3 separate regions of the Homo sapiens genome follow, and regions 1 and 3 are each linked to region 2. The links are contacts of gene promoters, found by promoter capture Hi-C in human tissues and cell types (Jung and others, 2019). All regions are on one chromosome and are shown on one strand. Each heading gives the region's core, a stretch centred on a gene start or on the middle of the fragment in contact. The rest is flanking DNA. Distances are from core to core; before and after follow the strand shown.

What was found. Contacts are between HindIII fragments. The study calls those that stand out against the background at their distance.
Region 1: a fragment that was not itself captured here is called in contact with the fragment with the promoter of PI3 in region 2 in 4 of the 25 tissues and cell types used here (dorsolateral prefrontal cortex, mesenchymal stem cells, mesendoderm cells and 1 more).
Region 3: a contact is called between a fragment that was not itself captured here and the fragment with the promoter of PI3 in region 2, in 2 of the 25 tissues and cell types used here (mesenchymal stem cells and small bowel).

The regions. Positions count from the first base shown.
Region 1 is chr20:45,091,838-45,095,229 of GRCh38, forward strand. KCNS1 (potassium voltage-gated channel modifier subfamily S member 1) reads right to left here. Exons shown (of 4, transcript NM_001322799.2): 4 at 1-3,392. The coding sequence ends at 3,033. Among named protein-coding and RNA genes, the nearest start is that of KCNS1, 7.6 kb to the right of the region's middle. The HindIII fragment of the contact is 5,760 bases long and covers 1-3,392 here.
Region 2 is chr20:45,172,989-45,176,539 of GRCh38, forward strand. PI3 (peptidase inhibitor 3) reads left to right here and starts at 1,914. Exons shown (of 3, transcript NM_002638.4): 1 at 1,914-2,013; 2 at 2,873-3,148; 3 at 3,382-3,551. The coding sequence starts at 1,935. The coding sequence ends at 3,147. RefSeq lists an enhancer at 1,504-2,703. The HindIII fragment of the contact is 10,589 bases long and covers 1-3,551 here.
Region 3 is chr20:45,073,763-45,077,176 of GRCh38, forward strand. STK4 (serine/threonine kinase 4) reads left to right here. Exons shown (of 11, transcript NM_006282.5): 11 at 1,256-3,414. The coding sequence ends at 1,414. Among named protein-coding and RNA genes, the nearest start is that of KCNS1, 26 kb to the right of the region's middle. The HindIII fragment of the contact is 4,057 bases long and covers 1-3,414 here.

The sequences.
Region 1 (3,392 bases), core at 633-3,132, 81 kb before region 2:
AGAAGAGAAAAGGAGAGGGTTTCCCCCTGGAGTCTCCAGAGGGAGGGTGGCCCTGCTGACATCTTGATTTTGGATTTCTGGCCTCCAGAACTGTCAGAGAATACACTTCTACTGTTTTAAGCCATCAAGTTTGTTTGAATTTGTTACAGCAGCTGCTGGAAACTAATATATCTTCCAATAAATTCATTTTTTGCTTGATGTCAGTTTGTTGCTTATACCCTCAAACTCTAATTGTTAACAGTCATTCATCACTTTAATTATTTTATAAATTACCCTTTTTGACCAAGTTTGTTCCAACTGAATTCCTGTCACTTGCAACCTGTTCTGGCTGGCACAACCACAAAGTTTGTGCCAAATCCAGGACTGGAGCCTGAGAATGTGGATTCCAAGTCATTCCACATATTGCCCACCCTCTCCAATCACTCAGACAGCATGTCAGGGAGCCATCTCCATACAAGCAGAAACACGTCCTGGGGCCCAGCTCTTTATTTGCATAATGGTTTTCACTGATACATGGGAAGGGGAGCGAGTTGTTGCTTTTCTGCCAGGACCACAAACAGCCTCATGGTAGGCTCAGGCCAGATGATTCCCTCTTGAGCTTTCTCCACATCAGTATTAGGGACCTGTTTGTAGGGTCAGAAAATATGGAAGCCGTCGGGTTTCTTGGTGTGTTCTGCAAGACCATAAGGGTGCTACACGCAGCCCTTCTGATCTGCCCCTAACCTGGGTTCAGCTGGGCCTAGATGTAAGGAGCAGAGTGTGCAGAAGGGCTGGTATGTGTGTGGTGAATTCAAGGGAGGCCCTTTGCTGCTTAGCTCCATCCTCTGTTCCAATCTGGAGACCCAGAATCCATGCGTATGTAGGGGGCCCACTATGTACTAGGCCCTGTGTATGACACACACCTTCACACATGCCATTCTCTCTGCTTGGAGTACTCCCCCCTGGAACCTCATTTGCTTAATTAGCAATTTATCATTTGGATGGCAGGTTAGATTGTCACTTGCTCAGGAAAGCCTTCTCACTTTCTCGGGCCATGGTCCCTGATACATTATACACACCTGTACTTAGTAGAGCTCGCTATATTTATGTGATTATTGCATTAGAGTCTATCTTCCCTACTAGTCGGTAAGCTTCATGAGTATAGGGATATATTTTTCCACCACTGTATCTCTTGAGACTAGTAAGCAGCCCATAAGTCAGAAGCCAGTATATCAGAGTGGCTGGGCATAACACAACGGCATGTGTGTCTGTTTGTGGGTGGCAGCGGGGGAGACACTATGGGGAACCTGAGAGTGCATGCCTCACGCAAAGGCATTCAGATTCTTAAAATATAATAAAAACACTGTTGGACTAAGCCGAAACATGACTGCAGGCCACACATGAAGCCCCAGTTTAAGACTCTTCCAACGGGTATTTGTTGAGTGAGTGAGTGAAGAACCTACAAGGAATATATTGTAAAAACTTCAAGAACCAAGCAGGGACAGGGCAGGCGGAGCTGAACGGACCTCCTTTTCAGTCTTGTTCACACCTTTTTGAGGGCCAGGTCTCTCTCTGGCTATCTTTTTTTCCCCCTCTGAGCTTGGCACCCAGTGGGCTGTAGGAATTGGTTGATCTATTCAACATTTACCAAATACCTACTCTGCACCAAGCCCAGAGTTCAAGCAGACAATGTCTTCCATCTTGAGGCTCAGGGTGATGGGACAGAGATAGCCACAGTCAGACAACAACAGCACAGTGCTGGGTGCTGTAGCCACAGTATGTGGAAAGGGCTACTGGATCCCCTCCTCTGACTTTCTCAGCAAGTGAAGAGAAGATTCAGCAGGTGGGTATGAGAGATATGCCCCCAGCAAGGGTGAGGGGGCTGGAGCTGGCCAGAAGGGAGAGGACTCTCACACATGGGCCTGGATGGGTACTCTAGGTAGGGCTGGACAATGTAGGGCTGGACGTCTGTGTGATGGGCAGAAAGGAACTGCCAAGGTCAGACTGTTGGGGGAGGGTCTTAGAAGCCAGTATTCATATATGTCAGCCCTCTGAACATTTCAGAGCTGAGCTGGCTTTAAGTTAGAGACCCCTCTGCTCTCCTTGGCTTTCATTGCCCTCTGGGTCACAGATTCTGACCATTTGACAGAGGGGCTGGAATCTGGACTTGGGGGCAGGGATTGGACCACTTTACACAGCAGGTCTTGGCGCAGCTAGGTTGTCTAGATCTCAGGCCAGGGGCCCTTCAGATTTTCTTTCTCTCACATCAGCCCTGGGAGGAAGGTCGGAAGATTATTGCTTAGCAAATCTTGCATACCAGCTAAAGAGGCAAGTACAATGCTATGGTACTTCCTCCCAGGACTCATCCTCCTTCCCTCCAGGACTCATCTTTGATTGCTGACTCCTGTTGGATGCTCCTAGAAAGGAACCACAGCTGAGATCCAGAGCTCCTATATCCAAATCTCCTGTCTGGACCCTTCCCTGGCTCTGAAAGGGATTTCTTATCTTGTGGATCAACTCTGGGGATCCATGAATCACCAAAAAACACACGCAAACTTCATGAGGGCAGAAGAAAGATGGAGTTGATGGAGCATTGCTCCAGGCACACCAACAAGCCCAGATTCCAAACCTGACTCTGCCACTTCTAATTGTGACATCTGGGAGAGGCATCGCTCATCTCTTAGCCTTGGTTTCCTCATCTGTGAAGTGGGGATAATTCTCTTTCTCCAACACAAGGCCAAACATGACCTGGTTCATGTACAGGAGGTGCTCAGGAATCATTAGTATCCTTTCAACTTCCTCCCTCTGGCTCATGCCTGCTTCATGAATGGCTTGGAGGCAGGTTTATAAAGCTTTCTGAGTTGCTTGCAGAATCTCACAGAATCTAGGGTAGCACTGTCCTGTCCTGGGCCTTTGGAGGAAGGAATGCAGCTTTTGAATCTCATTTCTCAGGACAGCATGAGTGATCCTGGGAGGCTCACTACCATGAAGAACTTTAGCAGGGGAGGAATCTCTACTGTAGGGGCATGGCAGGGGGTCACGGATCCCTGGTTTTAATACATCTGAGGGTGTGGAGGCTCACTGGGGGCCTGGCTCTCTAGATCTGCAGACTGTCCCTCCTGAGAGGTTTCTCGGGATGTCTCCAGAGATGCCTCCGACACCCCATCAATGCTGCTCAGCAAGTCCTCAAACTCTTGGTGGTTGCTGTTGCGCACGGCTGCCTCCAGAGCCTTCTGGCGCCGGTAGAAGTGGGAGAACTTGTTGAAGATGATGGTGATGGGGAGTGCTACCACCAGGATGCCCCCTAGGATGCAGCCTGAGGCTGCCAGCTTGCCAGCCACCGTCACTGGCACCACATCCCCATAGCCCACGGTGGTCATGCTCACTGTGCCCCACCACCAGCAGGCTGGGAT
Region 2 (3,551 bases), core at 664-3,163:
ATATATAACATTTTTGGTATTTTTCATAGAATACTGTACAGCAGTGAAAATGATGAACTACAGGTGTAGACTTCAAAATGGATGACTCTCAAAAATATAATGTTGAGCAACATAAGCAGGACATATGAACACTATACCTTAGATTTCATTTACATACAAATTGAAAAAGTATACTAAACTGAATATATATTTCAGAATACAGACAGAAGTGGCATAACTATAAAGGAAAGCAAGGGCTAATTACCATAAAATCTTAGGAAGCAGTTATCTCTGGGGAGGAAGGAGAATGAAGCAACTGAGGAGAGGCATGGAGCATAGATATAGCAAATATTCTCCTCCTTTACCTGGCAGCTCATTTTAATGCTATTCTTTAAAGAATATAGGTATTTTCTGTGAGCTTTTTATTTGTTTGTATGGCTTATTGTACAATGAGCTTTTGTGTAAGGTAGCCAAAGGCTTCCACAGTCTGACATTCGTTTATGTCTCCCTCAGTTTCAGGCTTGGTGGGCATGTGGTCAGAGTCTAAATCGACAAGGGGTGGGGATTTCACCAGCTGAATTAGTGTCCAATAATTAGTTTGTTACCTTCCCTGCCTTAACTCCACCTCAACTCAGTGACTTTCTTAACTCAGATTCTGTCCCTGACAATACCCAACTTCAGGATATTCATTTCTATTACTCAGAACTTTTGGTAACAATGACAGAATAGTAAGTCAGACTAGCTGAAGCAGAGGGCTAATTTATTGCCTCATAACCCAACCATGAGAAGGGTGTGTGAAGAACTGCTCTCAAGGTAAAGGAGGGAAACCTGGCTGTGTCATCTGAATCTTCTCTCACCATCACTTCTCTCCTTGTCTCAGTGTATTAGAGTCGTTTTTCTCAGACAATTGATCTCCACCCCCAGACTTAGATAACCACTTCTGGAATTCCCTGGTTCATATATATCACCTTTTCCAGAAGAAGGAACCCCCGTTTTCCCCTTTCATTACTCATTCAAATAAAATATGTTAATAGACCAGACCAAGTCTCACACACAACACACACACACACACTCACACACACACACACACACACACACCCCTACCTGTGGTCAGGGGTCAGGCTTTCATGATTAGCAGTCCCCATTAGACTCACAAGTTGATGGTTCAAAGAGACAACAATTCTTCACAAGAAACAGGGTGCTGTTCAAAGAAGTGGGGAGGCATGCTGGACACACACACTGTAGATGTCCAATGTATACATGATACATGTTTTCTACTACTTTCTGATTATTTTCTCCCTACCACTGTGATTTCAAGGGCATCATCCCTCTTCAGACCTAGAATTCCACCTTCCAATTACTTTCTTGATGCATCTGAAAGGCCGTCTCTGAAACAGCAAAGTGCAATAATTAGTCATTATGTATTCAAGGCAAATTTGTCTTACAGAGTTTTTTGCAGGACCAGGGAAGAAGGAAGGAAATGCCCAGTTTGATGCTGGGAGTGGTAAAATGATAAAGTAGATCTGGGTGGGGTTTGTAGCACCAGAGCATAATGGAGAAACACCTTGGTTTTGTAATCAAGACTGGATCTACCAGTGACTTGCTGAATAACCTTCGGTGATTCCTTTCTCTTCTTGGGTCTCACTGTATTTCAAAACATGAAGAATTTCATTGTAATGTTACCTAATAAGTGAGCCAGCACTTCTACTCTGTGAGAAAGTAGGAAAACTCTTGGGACAATCAGAGATGATGTGATGTAATGTCCATTAGTTCTTCCTGTGAATAATCCTGAGGGAAAGCCCCCAGGTCCCTCCCAGAATGGGGTGGATATTTCCCAATACAGCTAAGGAATTATCCCTTGTAAATACCACAGACCCGCCCCTGGAGCCAGGCCAAGCTGGACTGCATAAAGATTGGTATGGCCTTAGCTCTTAGCCAAACACCTTCCTGACACCATGAGGGCCAGCAGCTTCTTGATCGTGGTGGTGTTCCTCATCGCTGGGACGCTGGTTCTAGAGGCAGCTGTCACGGGAGGTGAGTGAACAGGTGACCTGCTGGGCTGGGTTGGACTAAGGGGAGACCCTCTGGGACACCCTGGGCCAGGACAGGGAGCACTTCTGAAGCAGTAGGCAGCACTGGAGCCCAGATTTCAGCTTTCTGTTCTTTGCCATCATATTCAGAAAAAATAGGACTTTGGCTGGTGGACTCCACGTGCTTTCCACCTCAGTGACTGAGATATCAGGACTGTTTGTGGAAGTAATGTTGGTATGTGGCCTTGGCCTCAGATGTCAATACCTGTGCAGAATGTGCAATAAAATAATGAACTCCAGGATTTTAAACCTTGGGTGTGGACACAGTCCCCCGTTTCTCTGCCCCATAAAAGCACTGGAGTAATCAGTACTCTAAAAGGAGGTTAAGAAACAACAAGCCTTCAGGAATCATGTTGTTTGAGGACCCCCATTTTATAAGGAGGGAACCAAAAATGTAGAAATGAGTGAGCAATTGCCAAGGTAATTCCCAGAGCCAGGATGGGGCTCAAGTCTCCTAGTATGTGGCTCAGGGTTCTTTCCTACTCCAATGCACTTCCTAACAAATGACAATGTGTCCTCTTCACTGCTGGGTGTCACCCCAGTCTGACCACTGCTCCTGAGAGACTTGGAGTGGAGGAAGGGGGAAGAAACAAATACTCAAGGGAACTCTGGTCCAGTAGACCACCCCAAAAAAGGAAGAGCCTTCCAAGAGTGTAGCTCCCAGAGGTGTACCTTCCCTACTCAGGCCATGGTTTGAGGATGCTGCAGTAAGCAGTGGATGGACCCAGACCCAGAGGAAAGACATGGCAGCTGAAGCAGAGGCTTACTGGGTATAAATGTGGGCTCGTTTCTTCTTTTAACAGTTCCTGTTAAAGGTCAAGACACTGTCAAAGGCCGTGTTCCATTCAATGGACAAGATCCCGTTAAAGGACAAGTTTCAGTTAAAGGTCAAGATAAAGTCAAAGCGCAAGAGCCAGTCAAAGGTCCAGTCTCCACTAAGCCTGGCTCCTGCCCCATTATCTTGATCCGGTGCGCCATGTTGAATCCCCCTAACCGCTGCTTGAAAGATACTGACTGCCCAGGAATCAAGAAGTGCTGTGAAGGCTCTTGCGGGATGGCCTGTTTCGTTCCCCAGTGAGGTGAGCACTAGCTGGAGAACGAGGAGACCCCTGAAGACACAAAAGAAGGCTGAGCGGTGGGGAAGCATCCCAGGTTGGTGGGAGGGAGGTTGTGGGAGGTGACAGAAAGACTGGGAGACTGAGGGGTCTGAGAGGCTATAACCAGAGTGCCTAGAAGGATGATCTGTCTTCCTCACTGCCTCTGAGTGCTTTGATGTGCTGACTCTCACCTCTGATACTCTTCTCTTCCACAGAGGGAGCCGGTCCTTGCTGCACCTGTGCCGTCCCCAGAGCTACAGGCCCCATCTGGTCCTAAGTCCCTGCTGCCCTTCCCCTTCCCACACTGTCCATTCTTCCTCCCATTCAGGATGCCCACGGCTGGAGCTGCCTCTCTCATCCACTTTCCAATAAAGAGTTCCTTCTG
Region 3 (3,414 bases), core at 698-3,197, 99 kb before region 2:
TGCAGACACAGGTTGAACACTGGTGTATCCCTGGGCTTTTATGAAGAGAGAGGCTTATAACACCCATTGCCATCTTTACACACACAGTGCAGCAGGTACTGTGCTGAGAACTTTACAGCCGTGATCTTATTTAATTCTTACAATACATGTGATGAGACACTGCTGTCTGACTTCTGTAGATGGGGAAGGCCTGGAGAGATTGGTAACTTGACAGAGTCTCATGGCATCTGCAACAGGCAGAACCACATTTTAAACAAAGGTTGAGTTACTTCTAAAACCTGTGCTTTGCTAGTCTTCTGTTCTGCAACACTGGTTAAGAGCATAGACTCTAGAGCCATGCTGCCTGGGTTTGAGTCTTGATTCTGCCACTTACTAGTTGGGAGACATTGGGCAGGTTACTTAGCTACCCTCCTCCTTGGGCTGTTCATCTGTAACATAGGGATAATAATGTCCTTGTAGCATGGGTTGCTCTGAGGATTAAAGGAATCCATATATGTAAAGCACTCAGTGTCTGGTGCATAGAAAACACTAAATGCCAGCCATTATTATTAATTTATATATCAACTCATTGTTTTTCTTTGGATGATAGAAACTTAATCTCAGAAGTTTGAGGTTTTTCTAACTACCCACCCTTACCCCAACCCCTGCCAAGGGTTGCGTCTGTATTCCCAAGGGGCTTAGACTGTTACCTGGTATATAGTAGCCTCAAGTAAATGCTGGTGATGATAATAGGGCAGTGCCAAGACATTGGGGGTGTGGGAAGGCAGGGTTAGGGGATGGCATCTGCGCCTCATCAGCATCGATCCTCCATGGTGTCGTATCCTGAAAGTGGGAAAGGCGCTGTCCAGATAGACGCTTATCTCGTAGACAGAACAAGAACGGGGAGGCAACCATTATTTCACATACAGCAAGTTACTGTTATTTTAATGCCCTAACAATGAATCTATATTTAATTAACTTAAAAGATAGGGGAGGTGAGAGTATTATTCACTAAGTTCTTGGTCAAGGCACATTAAATCAAAGCGGTTAGCACTTAGATCTCTTCCAGGGATAAATTATCTCAGACAAGCTTCAAGGTATGCCATGCTTTGGAATGAATTGTCACTTTCCAACCACCACCACTCAACCTGTGATCTGACCACAGTGTCTTCCTCCTGTCTCCCTTCCCTCTGGGTGCCTGGGAAGGCTGGGCTTCTGCACTGTTCTGCCACTGACTTAAGCTTTGTCGTGACTATACCTTCCACTTCTCTTCTAGCTTAAGAGTTGGACAGTGGAGGACCTTCAGAAGAGGCTCTTGGCCCTGGACCCCATGATGGAGCAGGAGATTGAAGAGATCCGGCAGAAGTACCAGTCCAAGCGGCAGCCCATCCTGGATGCCATAGAGGCTAAGAAGAGACGGCAACAAAACTTCTGAGCAAGGCCAGGCTGTGAGGGCCCCAGCTCCACCCAGGCTTTGGGTGAATTCTGGATGGCTTGCCTCATGTTTGTTAGCCAGCACTTCTGCTCTGTCGTCTCTCCACAGCACCTTTGTGAACTCAGGAATGTGCGCCAGTGGGAAGGGCTCTCTTGACAGTCAGCGTGCCATCTTGATGTGTGTATGTACATTGGTCAGGTATATTATCTCAAAGGATTTATATTGGCGCTTTTAACTCAGAGTTTTAAACCCCAGGAACAGAGACTCCTAGTTGAGTGATAGCTGGGAAAGTTTTACATTGTCTGTTTTTCTTCTCCCAATAGCTTTCAATTGTTCTTTCTGGAAGACTTTTAAAAAAATATAAATATGCATATATATATATAAATTATAAATAGATTCCCCACGCAGTGTGGTGGCATCTCTGTACAGGTACAGTTTTAAACGGTTTGCCTCTTTTCTGTAAGATTATGGTACTGTGGAACATGAGGGCAGAGGACACCGGGAGGCTGTTAGGGGGTCACTGAATCCCAGGAGCCAACCTCCCCCTTTGCAGGGCTGCATTTAAAAATTAGGTTTGGGACAGTTCTTGTACCGTGGTTTCAGCCTTGTGTGGTCATCACTGGCTTCTGGAGCTATTGGTGATGTCCAAGGGAAAGCTTTGAGAGTTTATGTTTACTCTTTGAGTCCCAGGAGAAGCCTGGCACCCTCTTTGCAAATTGGCCTTTGCTCTTTCAATGCCTTTCATCCATCTCCACTCTCTCAACTGCCTAAAGTCACAGCACAGATACTGCCCAGTGCCTTAAGAGGAGACATGATCTCTACCAGGGACTCTCAGCAAACACGGGACTGTGTTCAGTCCACAAAGGAAAAGCGTTTTTGAAGCTCTCATTGTTCATGTAAAAATCATACACGTGGCATGTTGCTCCACATTCCTTACACACAGGGGTAGAGGGGATTGCTTTTGTGACCCACGTTCAAATATGTGACTGTTTTCTTTTCTCTTTTACTGCTAAGCAGCCTGGAAAGGATAAATGAATATTAGACTAAGATTTGTTTTCCAGGAGGCTCAATCTGAACACACAGAATGTCAGAGCTGGAAGGGACTATAGAGATCATCTGATCTGATCCTCTTGTACGGATGATCGCAAAACTGAGGTGTAGAGAGGGGAATGGCCAAAATCACAAAGCAAGTTAGCGTTAAGAGCTGAGACTAGAATTCAGGGTCCTCACTCCCAGGCCACCGAACCATGCAGCCCCTTCTTTGGGGGAAGAGACCTGTGTCAGTCTTGGTTAATTGTTCCAGGGAACCTTGCTAACAGAAACTTGCTCTTGCCTTGGCTCTTCAGTAGATGACCTGGCTGTAAAGAGATTCCCTGGACGAGCCAGATCATTCAGTTTCAGCGAGTCCTTGAGCTCCACAACATCTACCAGATATAGCAGACAAGCACCCATGGAGGCAGGTTTCGGGCCTGAAGCAGATCAGAGGGCTTTGCAAAAGACAGCATAGAGCCATCTTCCTGCAACTTTACCTCTTTCCCTCAGATGGGGAGCCATGACTGGGTTGCACCTCAGGATACTGTAATTTGACTCCATAATTGCTTTTGCTCCTGAAACCTGGGAATCAATGGAAAGGCAGGGAATGTGCCTCTTCTGTGGCCAGATTCTGTTATTTGCAATTAAAGCAAGTTTTTAAAAAATGCAAGAGGCAGTTGTTAGTCTTCAGGGCTTGGCAACTGAAATAGCTATGTGGCGGATACGGAAAACAGAGGACAATTTGAGGATCTTGCTGGAATAATAAATGACAGCTACCATTTGTTGAGCACCTATTATATATCAGGCACTGAGCTGGGTAGGCTCTAAACTTCACAATAACCCTGTGACTTAACTACTTTATCTCCATTTTGTAGTTGAAGAAATAAGTTCAGAGAGAAAGATTCCTTCCCAAGGTCATGCAGCTAGTAAATGATAGAATCAGGATTCATAGCATCACTATAGGGGGT